Linked DNA regions of Homo sapiens: all the other regions are linked to region 1. Evidence: promoter capture Hi-C in human tissues and cell types (Jung and others, 2019). All regions are on one chromosome and are shown on one strand. Each heading gives the region's core, a stretch centred on a gene start or on the middle of the fragment in contact. The rest is flanking DNA. Distances are from core to core; before and after follow the strand shown. Region 1 holds the start of KCNE4 (potassium voltage-gated channel subfamily E regulatory subunit 4). Region 2 has its middle 27 kb from the start of SCG2. Region 3 has its middle 100 kb from the start of SCG2.

Region 1 (3,199 bases), core at 319-2,818:
GGCAAAATAGCAAATCACAACTAGTCTCTCAGCGTGTCCTAAGCATTCGGCAGCCCTGGGAACAGGCAGACCCTGCAGGAGCTACCCAGGGCATCCAGTGAGAAAATGGCAAACATATCATCCCGCCAAATTCTGATCAGAACCCCAACACCCAGGCCCCAAAGTCAGTGTACGCGCTGCGCATCTCCGCGGCTTTTTCAGTGGTGGGTGCAAACCACAGGCACCTCCCGGACTCCTTGGAGGTGCTGGTTCCGGCTGAGCCTAGTCCCCCACCCCACCCCGAATCAGGGGTTTACCAAGGGTCTCTTCAAAGTGGCAGCCGCACTGTGAAAGTGAAACCAGACACTTGAAAACTGTCTTTCCTCTCTCTAAGGTTGCTGGCTGATGGAGCCACCGGCAGGGGTCCCGGGGGTGCTAGGAATTCTGATGGATGTTCTCCGAGGACCCTTCGCTGCTCTCGTTGAGGGGCGTCTCCGAGGTCTCCTCCAGCTCATCGTCTGCCCCCTCCTCCTGAATGGTGAGGTGCACGTCCGGGGAGGAGGACTCGGAGCTCACGCTGTCCCCTTCCATGGAACAGAGGGTGCAGGACAGCGCGGGCGCCACGCTCTCCTGCAGCATGTTCAGCATCAGGGGCACCTGCACCGACCTCAGGCCCGACACCACAGGCAGCGGCTTCATGGCCTCCCCCCAGAGCCGCTCCTCGTCTTTGTACAGCAGCAGGAGGCTGGACTTCTTCTCCCGCCTCTTGGATTTCATGTAGCCCAGCATGATTCCGATCAAGAAAATGCCGTAGAAGGACATGACAACCAGAATGTAGAAGTACTCGTTGCCATTGCCGCTGCCGCCGCCGGCCGCACGGGACTCCAGGGGGCTGCTGGAGGCGGCGGTGCCGGGGTGCGTGCTGTTCAGAGGCTCCATTTTCAGCATTGAGGCTGCCTCCACAGCAGGGGCTGGGGAAAAAGCCGCAGGTTAGAACTCTCCCCCAGGTCCTGGGCACAGGGAGGTGGGGGAGCACGAGGTTTGTGGAACTGCAATACCAAAAAAGCTTAAAAGTGCATGAAAGAAATAGCATAAGAGGGTTCGCCAAACAGCTGACAAGAGTGAGCTATGAGGGCTTGGAGTGCACGGGAGAGAAGCCCGGGAAGGTTCACTGGGAAAAGTAAGAAGGACTTTTTTTTTTTTTTTTAGTGTACACATTTGTCCTGTTTGTAGTGAGCAGTATTACTTTGATTAAAAAAAAAATCAATGTAAGACAGGAGCATACAGTAAATAGTATCTTTAAAACTGGGAAACGTATTTTAACTGAGCAGAAACAAAGTTTACATTGTGTTTCCAAAACCAAACTATTTTAAATTCAAAACAATGTTTCCTTAGAACAAAGAAAAGCAGGAAGAAAATAAAGGAAAAAAATTCATCTATTAATTGGCAAAAATGTCCCTCTTTCAAATGTTTCTGAAAGCAAAGTGTAGCCTTGCTGACTTACCAAGGCTGACAGTTTGTCCCAAGTTTTGAATTCCCAAATCGTCCAGTCCAAGAGGGTTCTTCTGCTCTGTCCGGCTCTGCGCTCTGACAACTCCGCTGCTGCAGTTGGGATATATAGTCAAGAAGTGCATCGTCACGTGCTCTGGGAGGAAAATTTACAACAGAGATTGATCGTGGCAGAGTGAGCAGTGAACTGAAAGCACTGCAGTTCAACTCCCTGAACTTTGCAGCTGTGAAAAGTGAAAAAGACTGGGAAGTGGGAACTGCTCCTCAAGCCCCAGCACCCGGCCAGGGTTTTCAGGTAGCGGTGACGATGAGTGAAAAGAGGAGAAAGGGATGTGCTGTGCTGGAACCGTTACCCCAAAGTCCGCGCTCACTGAAAATTAGCTCATGCTTCGCGCGGCTCCTGGGGAATAACCATTATTGGGCTACAGGTTTTCAGAGGCAGCTGAATCCCATAATCTGGATGAAAGACAGTTGGAAGCAAGTGCGGGATTTACAGTCAAGGAACTGGGGCTTCGGTTTCAGTTCTTCCACTCCTTATGCAAATAAGATAAATCCTTCCTTAACCTCTCCGCACCTCACATTCCTCGTCTGTAAAATCGTTGTGCCTGGCGGGGGGGGGGGTCTTCTGCAGGTAGGATTATATAAACCACGTGACCTTTTGAGACCCTTTCAGCTTAACCCTTCTAAGATTGAAGGCTGCCTGGTGTTGCTTAGCCCTCTAAAAGCAGAGATTCTAGCTGCCTTCCACATCAAGGTCACAAACCTATGTTTATAATAATTTTTTTTTAAAAGCTCCCACATTCTTTTCAGTGGTCTGCATTAAGTGGAAACATGTTGTCGTAAAAGATACTATGGGCAGGTTTTGTTCCGTCCTGCCATACACAGCTGCTCCTCTGAAGCCTCATGCGGAGGCTATTGACACGTCTCTTTGCTGTCTCTCGTAGGTCAGGGGAGGAGCAGGACTATTTCAGAGTGCAACTAAGCACAGTTCAAGTTTTTTAAACCTCGGTAGACCCTGTGTTTAAATGGCTGCTGTGATCAAAATTGGAAGAGGAATTGCAGGCTTTAATGTCAGTCTCTCTGCTCCCTGGGCTGCTTATTCTGAGGCTTTCATGCTAAGTGGAAGGAAACTGGGAGAGATCCACTCCCTCCAGTTGTCTGTGGCCTGTGGATTGCAGCCAGACTGTCTTGTGGGCCAACTCTAAAGGAAACATCTCTCATGGTTCTGCTGTAGTCAAACTGACGCATGCGACATCCACCTGACCTGCTTGAACATATATAGCTTAGGCACTGGAATTTTCACTGCTGCTACAGGAACCCCCCTGGGTTTGCACCTGATCCTGATTCTAAGAAGACACCTGGAGGAAGAATAGGAAGATGAACTGAATGCTGCCATTTTTCCCACTTGACTACTCACCTGTGTTCATCCATAAATCCCCAGCTGGCACTGGAGGTACCAACCATCGACCACTCCAGCATCACGATCATCCATACAGTGGAACTGTGCTCACACCAGTAAAGATACCCTCACCATTGTGTTAATACGTAAAACCCTCCATAGCTACCTCAGCCATGGTAGACTTGGTCTTTTCAACAGGTGTCCATCATAAACACTAGAACACTTCCATCTATATCTAAGCCTACACTGGAATGTCTGGGACACTAGAACAAGATGGGCCCAAGAAAGAGATGCCTGTTGATTGTTGACCCT
Region 2 (3,348 bases), core at 789-3,288, 580 kb before region 1:
AATGTCATGACCCCCGCTCTCTCAGGCCCAGCACTTCTTATGTTTTTCCATCATCATCTTTTTGTTTTTTAATCACAAAACTATCCAGACTGATTAATTACAACTTATCAATGCCTGCTGTTTGTGTAGCACTGGGCTGGTTGGAATTATTCATACTCGGATCCTTGATGATTAATAAAGACAAAGCCCATCAACACCCAGGAATGCCTATGCTAGGGAAAATTACAAATAATTGAGAGGGAATGTGGAGATATAATTCAAATGGGACAAACTGGCAGTTATGTAGGATGAATCAGTCTAAAGGTCTAATGTACAGCGGGAAAATGATAGCTAATAATATTGTATAGGCTGGGTGTGGTGGCTCACACCTGTAGTTCTAGCATTTTAGGAGGCCAAGGAAGGAGGATAGCTTGAGCCCAGGAGTTCAAGACCAGCCTGGGCAACATGGTGAAACCCCATCTCTATAGAAAACACAAAAAAATTAGCCTGGCAATGTGGCATGCACCTGTAGTCCTGGCTACTAGTGGGGCTGAGTTGGGAGGATCCCTTGAGCTTAGGTGGTCAAAGGCTGCAGTGAGTAGAGATGGCACCACTGCACTCCAGCCTGAGACAGGGCAGGACCCTGTTTAAAATATATATATACAGTATATACAGTAGATATATATTATATAAATTATATATATTATGTATATAAATTCATACTCATATATATAATTTGCTAAGAGAGTAGATTTGAAGTACTGTTGCCACATACACACACACACACACACACACACACACACACATACACACACACACATGAGGTAACTATGGAAGATGATGGGCATGTTAAATTGTTCATTGGTAGTAATCATTTCACTATGTATATGCGTATCAAAATATCATGTTGTACATCTTAAATTTAAAAAACAATTAAAAAGCCCCTAAATCATTGGGACACAAAATAAATATAGTGGATATGTGCCAATTAGGAAACAGAACTCCATCCACTCCATGTGTTTTTTGCAACCGAGAAAGAGAGAGATCACTGTGTACTGATGTCATAAAGAAGAGGTTCATGGGGGAAGCAGAGCATGAACCAGGCAAAGAAAGATGGAGAGAGGATAGTTACTGGATGCCAACCAGGGGTGGAACAGCATTTTCTTCAACAAGCACTTTTAGAAGGCTTGTTATGTGTCAGAAACTGGTCTTAGTGCTTTCAAAATGCAAACTCATTTAATCCTCGTGGTAACTCTGTGAAGTAGGTACTAGTGTTATCATGTCCATTTTTACAGATGAAGCACAGAGAGTCTAAGTAGCCTGTTAAGGTCACACAGCTGGAAGTAGAAAACCATGATTTATACCTGGGGAGGAAGACACCACTGATGTGCTTTTAACCACTGTGCTAGGCTGCATCCTCGGCATCAAGCAAGGCATTTGGAAAGGAAACTGAGCTACAGGGAATCAGTTATACTGTGGACGTGTGGTGATGATGGACATCCGTGTGGCCCTTTGGGCTTGCAAAAGCAGAGATTGTTTTGAGAGATGGCAGCTGGAGTTACAGATTCATAAGTGTCATCTACCAAGACACACAGGTGAAGCAAAGGATAGCTTGCATAAAGAGCAAACCTTAATTTTTCCTTGAATGGGACACTTATTAAATTCTGCCTATTTGACAGTCCTTAGGCGAAAGGAGCTTTTACATTGTCTCTTAGTGGCAGGTTTCTAACCGACAGATTGCAAATCAAAGTGAGGGGGCATGCAAAGATATTTGCAGTTGTGAAATATACCCATGGAGTGACACAGGTCCCCACTGTGTCACTGCATCCAAAGCAATCAACACATACATAGACAGTACTGATTAGGAGGGAAAAGGCTGTCTTTGTGGAGCAGCAAAGCTTCTATTTTGGATATTTATTGTTTTGCTCTGAGAGCAAAGCCTCAAGTTTAAGGCCTTTTTCATACCCACTGCAAATCAAATTATTAAAGAGTGCTGAACTGCTGCTCTCATTATTCTGATTAACAATTCAGAACCTGATATTGAATTATTCATGGTGTTTAAATAACTTATCAATGCGAACAAAAGTAATGCGAAACTGTTGCAATTAGAAAAGCTTACTTAAAGCTTGTAGACAAATATCCTTAATTAAGTCATATTGCCTGCTGGAGATGGAGTTTCTGGGAACCAAAGAAGAACTGGAGAAATGGAAGTCCAAGAGGGGTAAAAAACAAATAAACAAAAATCCCATGTGTGTGAAGGTACTTTAGTGTACCCACATGATTTTGGAATGCTTGAGGGAGCTTCAAGCAAGAGTCCCCTGAAGGCCTACCACTGCCTTTGGAGAGTCTAGTTAATTAGGTCAAAAAAAGAGAATTTAGAACAATATGATACATTAAGCTTTCAGTTACAGAAAAGTGACAGGAATGGTGGATGCTAATGTGTAAGTAATCAAAAGTTAAAAAAAAAATACTGACCCAGGGGCAGGAAAACCAGTCTAAGGAAGGTACAACTGGCATCATCTTGAGTGTGGTGTCTGAGCACTGGGGAAACCCTGAGGCTCCCGGTTGTTCTATTTTGTCTGCTGCTCCTAGATTTTCTCTAAACCATTTTCCTATTCTCAAGTCCTCAAATGGGAGAAAGAGGTTTGGGGTAGATGAGAGACCACTCCATTACTAAGCATGTTGAAAAAAACCAAACAAACAGACACCATTTATCATGTACTACTGAGATGATTGGGTCTGTGGTTCCAAAGCCAAACAGTAGCTTGTTCTTGTCTCATAAAGAGCTCACAGTCATGCTGGAAAAGCAAAACAGCAGATGCAGTAGTCATGCAGAAGGTGCCCAGGATGCATAGCAGAGGGACGGAGCTCTCTTAGGGTCCAGATGGCTGAATACCCAGAAGCTGGAGAGACTCATGTTTCCCAGTGTTGAGGTCTCACATGGGTGGAATGGAGAAGTCACTGTACCAGTCAATGTCCTTAGTTTCAAGCAACACATACCAATGGGATAACTTTGGCAGCAATTAGTGGAAGGCAGCTCTTTCCAACAATAAAAGGCTAGAGGGGCAGACTTGACAAATGGGCAACAGTAGGGGAGTTTGGAAGATAAGGTCAAGGCAAAGTTACCTCATTATACTAGTTGGTGTGGGTAGTTATCATTGGCATCTTCCCAGAGAGACGCTTGTCACCATGCCACTGGACCCTGTTCCACATCTTTGACAGCCTTTGTTCCTCCTTCATGGAAACACTCACCAAGAGTCAAAGTGCTGACTGGGAGCACCTGATTGGCTAAGCCTCAGTTACATGGCCCAATCCCAGATGTCAGGGCGCAAAGTTGAGAAATATCTCATACCTTTTTTTTTTTTTTTG
Region 3 (3,515 bases), core at 640-3,139, 650 kb before region 1:
GGCTGGTCTTGAACTCCTGACCTCAAGTGATCTGCCTGCCTTGATCTCCCAAAGTGTTGGGATTACAGGCATGAGCCACTGCACCCAGCCTGTTTGTAGAATCTTATACAGATTTTGGCTCCTAGTATTATTTCTTGGATTACATATAACATTTTGTATTGTAATAAAAGGAAGAACTCTAAAATTTGACCAGTGTTAATAGGTACGAATGGAGAGCCACAAAATTAAAAACGCAGAGCTTTATCTCACAGGCACATACACATCCACTCCAGATATATTAAACAATTGTATTAGTATGCTAAAATAATAAAACAGTAGGGAAATATTTTTATAAATATTGAAATGGGGAAGACCTTCCCAGGAAAAGCCTCAAACACAGAAACCATAAAGGGAAATATTGATGTATTTGAATACATACAATTTTTAAATTTTAGAATCATAAAATATACCATGAACATAGTTAAAAGACTTTGAGAAAACTGGAGAAAATATTTGCAGATGGAGACAGAGAATGAACACCCACGAAATAGAAGGTGCTATTAAAAATCAGTGAGAGAAGAAAAATAACCCAATACAAAAAATGAAGAAAGGATTTGAACAGAATCCCACTGCACCAAATGTCTAATAATAATGATCATAAAAAGATGCTTAATTCACTCACAAATAGAAATACAAATTAAACTGAATTATCATGTTTCACCCAAACTAGTGAAAACATAAGCGTTGATAGTATTTAGTATTTAGATGTGGGGAAAGGTCTTATACTGTGTGGGAATGTGAGTTGGTATGGGAAATTGGTAAATTTCCCAAATGGTAAATTGAGGGAACTTTGTCAGTTACTGGTAAAATTTAAAATGTGCATGCTCTCTAAAGAACAATTTTTTTTTTCTTTGAGATGGAGTCTTGCTCTGTTGCCCAGGCTGGAGTGCAGTGGTGTGATCTTGGCTTACTGCAAGCTTGGCCTCCTGGGTTCACGCCATTCTCCTGCCTCAGCCTCCCGAGTAGCTGGGACTACAGGCGCCTGCCACCACGCCCGGCTAATTGTTTTGTGCTTTTTAGTAGAGACGGGGTTTCACTGTGTTAGCCAGGATGGTCTCAATCTCTTGACCTCATGATCTGCCTGCCTTGGCCTCCCAAAGTGCTGAGATTACAGGCGTGAGCCACCGCACCCTGCCTAAGGAACAATTTTACTTTTAGAAATCTTCCCTTCAGAAATACATAAAATAAAAATAGTAATCACTACCTTAATAATAACTTCCATTTCTTGAACACTTGATGCGAGTCACGGTACTGTGTACTTTGCATGCTATCTCATTCAAATCTCATGACAATCTTGAGAGACACTGAGAGGGAGACAGAAGACAAACCAAAGCATAAGTATAGTGATAAAATAAGTAATTTTTGTGTGTGCATACTTTAATTCTTAAATTGCTATCAAGAATGCATATTGTTATTAGCCGGGTGTGGTGGCAGGTGCTTGTAATCCCAGTTACTCAGGAAGCTGAGGCAGGAGAATAGCTTGAACCTAGGAGGCGGAGGTTGCAGTGAGCCAAGGTCACACCCCTGTACTCCAGCCTGGGTGATAGACCGAGACTCTGTATCAAAAAAAAAAAAAAATGCATCTCGCTTTTGTGATTATGTATATTAATTGTTATATAATAAAAGAATATTATGGAAAATGAAATTCATAAAGAACAAATGTGTTAAATACCATTTTGATTTTAACAATGGATGGAATATGTTGGGAGATACCCAAGGACAATACAAGTTCAAACTTTGGATAAGTTACTATGTTATTGGGAAGAGAAGATGAAATGTTTTGAACAACCTGAGACAATTTATACCAATTGCTAAATCATCTGGTGTATATAGCTTGTTGCCATAGCAATCCAGAGTAGGGAGCCCAGTATATACTTGTTTCTGTGACAGGCAGTCTCTAATTCTTGCTACCCTGAATTTCTCTGGTTGATATATCTGATGCTGCCCATATAGTCTCATTCCATTTGTCTGCTTGAGCAGCTGACTCGTCAGTTTCTTCTGGTTTAAATTTAAATCTGTATTGTTCCTTTCCAATTAAGATCACCACCTAGAGTAACTGCTGACTACATGGAGATTATAGAAAAAAGTGGTGCTTTTAACTGTAAGGTTTTCTGACCCCATTTCTAGAAATACACTTCATCAATAAGTAGAACTTTCCTTTATTGTCTATAAATGGCAGTACAACATACTGGTTAAGAGCACAGACTCTGAACTAGACTTGAAATACTGGCAGCGCCACTTTCCAGCTGTGTGACATTGGCAATTTACTTAACCTCTGACTTTTAATCTCTTCATTCTTAATATGGAGATAATAATAATGGTATCCTCAGGCCGTGTGCAGTGGCTCACGCCTATAATCCCAGCTCTTTGGGAGGTGGAGGGGGGAGGATCACCTGAGGTCAGGAGTTTGAGACCAGCCTGGCCAACATGGTGAAACCCTGTCTCCACTAATAATACAAAAATTAGCCTGGCATGGTGGCACGGACCTGTAACCCTAGTTACTTGGGAGGCTGAGGCAGGAGAATTGCTTGGTGCCACTGCACTCCAGCCTGGGCGACAGAGTGAGACCCTGTCTCAAAATAAATAAAAATAAATAGATAAATAAATAAATAAAACAATGGCACTCTTATGTGGTTGAAGATTGAGTCCATATATGTAAGGTACCTTAAATGACAATGTATCTGGCACATGGTAAATGTTCTATAAGTACTTACTACTAGAAATAGGCACCTTAATTAAATATTTCTACCTCTTTTGTTTTATTTTATTTTATTTTATTTTTTTTTGAGACAGAGTCTTGCTATGTCACCCAGGCTGGAGTGCAGTGGCATGATCTCAGCTCACTGCAACCTCTGCCTCTTGGGTTCAAGCAATTCTCCTGCCTCAGCCTCCCGAGTAGCTGGTACTACAGGCGCCCGCCATCACATCCGGCTAATTTCTGTATTTTTAGTAGAGATGAGGTTTTGCCATGTTGGCCAGGCTGGTCTTGAACTCCTGATCTCAGGTGATCCACCCACCTTGGCCCCCCAAAGTGCTGGGATTACAGGCATAAGCCACGGCGCCCAGCCAATATTTCTACCTTTTGGGGTTGCTTCCTCATCATGGAATTAATACTTGCTTATGGAGGCTGTTTCCTCTTTATAAACAGTACCCCTCACTTGTAGCTCCATTCTGAAAAATTCTGACAGATAATTCAGCAGACTAAACGATCAAATCACCCTGGCACGTTCCCCTCAGCTGGGCTCTGCAGGGCAGCTAAGATTGGGCACTGATGTTCCTGGCTTCAGTCCTACCCGGGTTATGCAGCTACGGCTTCATACATACACCAGTTGCACTAACTTGGGATGAAAATTAAGTTAAAACCAGTAGAAAATTTCATCCTATGTTTTGGTGGTAAAAGAAGCAAATGAACAAATGAATAGAGGCTGCCAAACAGTTGTCTCACCAACTGTTCCGACTAGCTAACAAGATTAGCT

Evidence for each region. The method cuts DNA at HindIII sites, captures the fragments that hold promoters and counts their contacts. A contact is called where the count stands out against the background at its distance.
Region 2: a contact is called between a fragment that was not itself captured here and the fragment with the promoter of KCNE4 in region 1, in 1 of the 25 tissues and cell types used here (mesenchymal stem cells).
Region 3: a contact is called between a fragment that was not itself captured here and the fragment with the promoter of KCNE4 in region 1, in 1 of the 25 tissues and cell types used here (mesenchymal stem cells).

What each region holds. Positions count from the first base shown.
Region 1 is chr2:223,050,559-223,053,757 of GRCh38, reverse strand. KCNE4 (potassium voltage-gated channel subfamily E regulatory subunit 4) reads right to left here and starts at 1,568. Exons shown (of 2, transcript NM_080671.4): 1 at 1,484-1,568; 2 at 1-950. The coding sequence starts at 927. The coding sequence ends at 415. RefSeq lists an enhancer at 713-1,260. The HindIII fragment of the contact is 5,924 bases long and covers 483-3,199 here.
Region 2 is chr2:223,627,515-223,630,862 of GRCh38, reverse strand. No RefSeq gene overlaps it. Among named protein-coding and RNA genes, the nearest start is that of SCG2, 27 kb to the right of the region's middle. The HindIII fragment of the contact is 4,424 bases long and covers 1-3,348 here.
Region 3 is chr2:223,700,471-223,703,985 of GRCh38, reverse strand. No RefSeq gene overlaps it. Among named protein-coding and RNA genes, the nearest start is that of SCG2, 100 kb to the right of the region's middle. The HindIII fragment of the contact is 4,357 bases long and covers 1-3,515 here.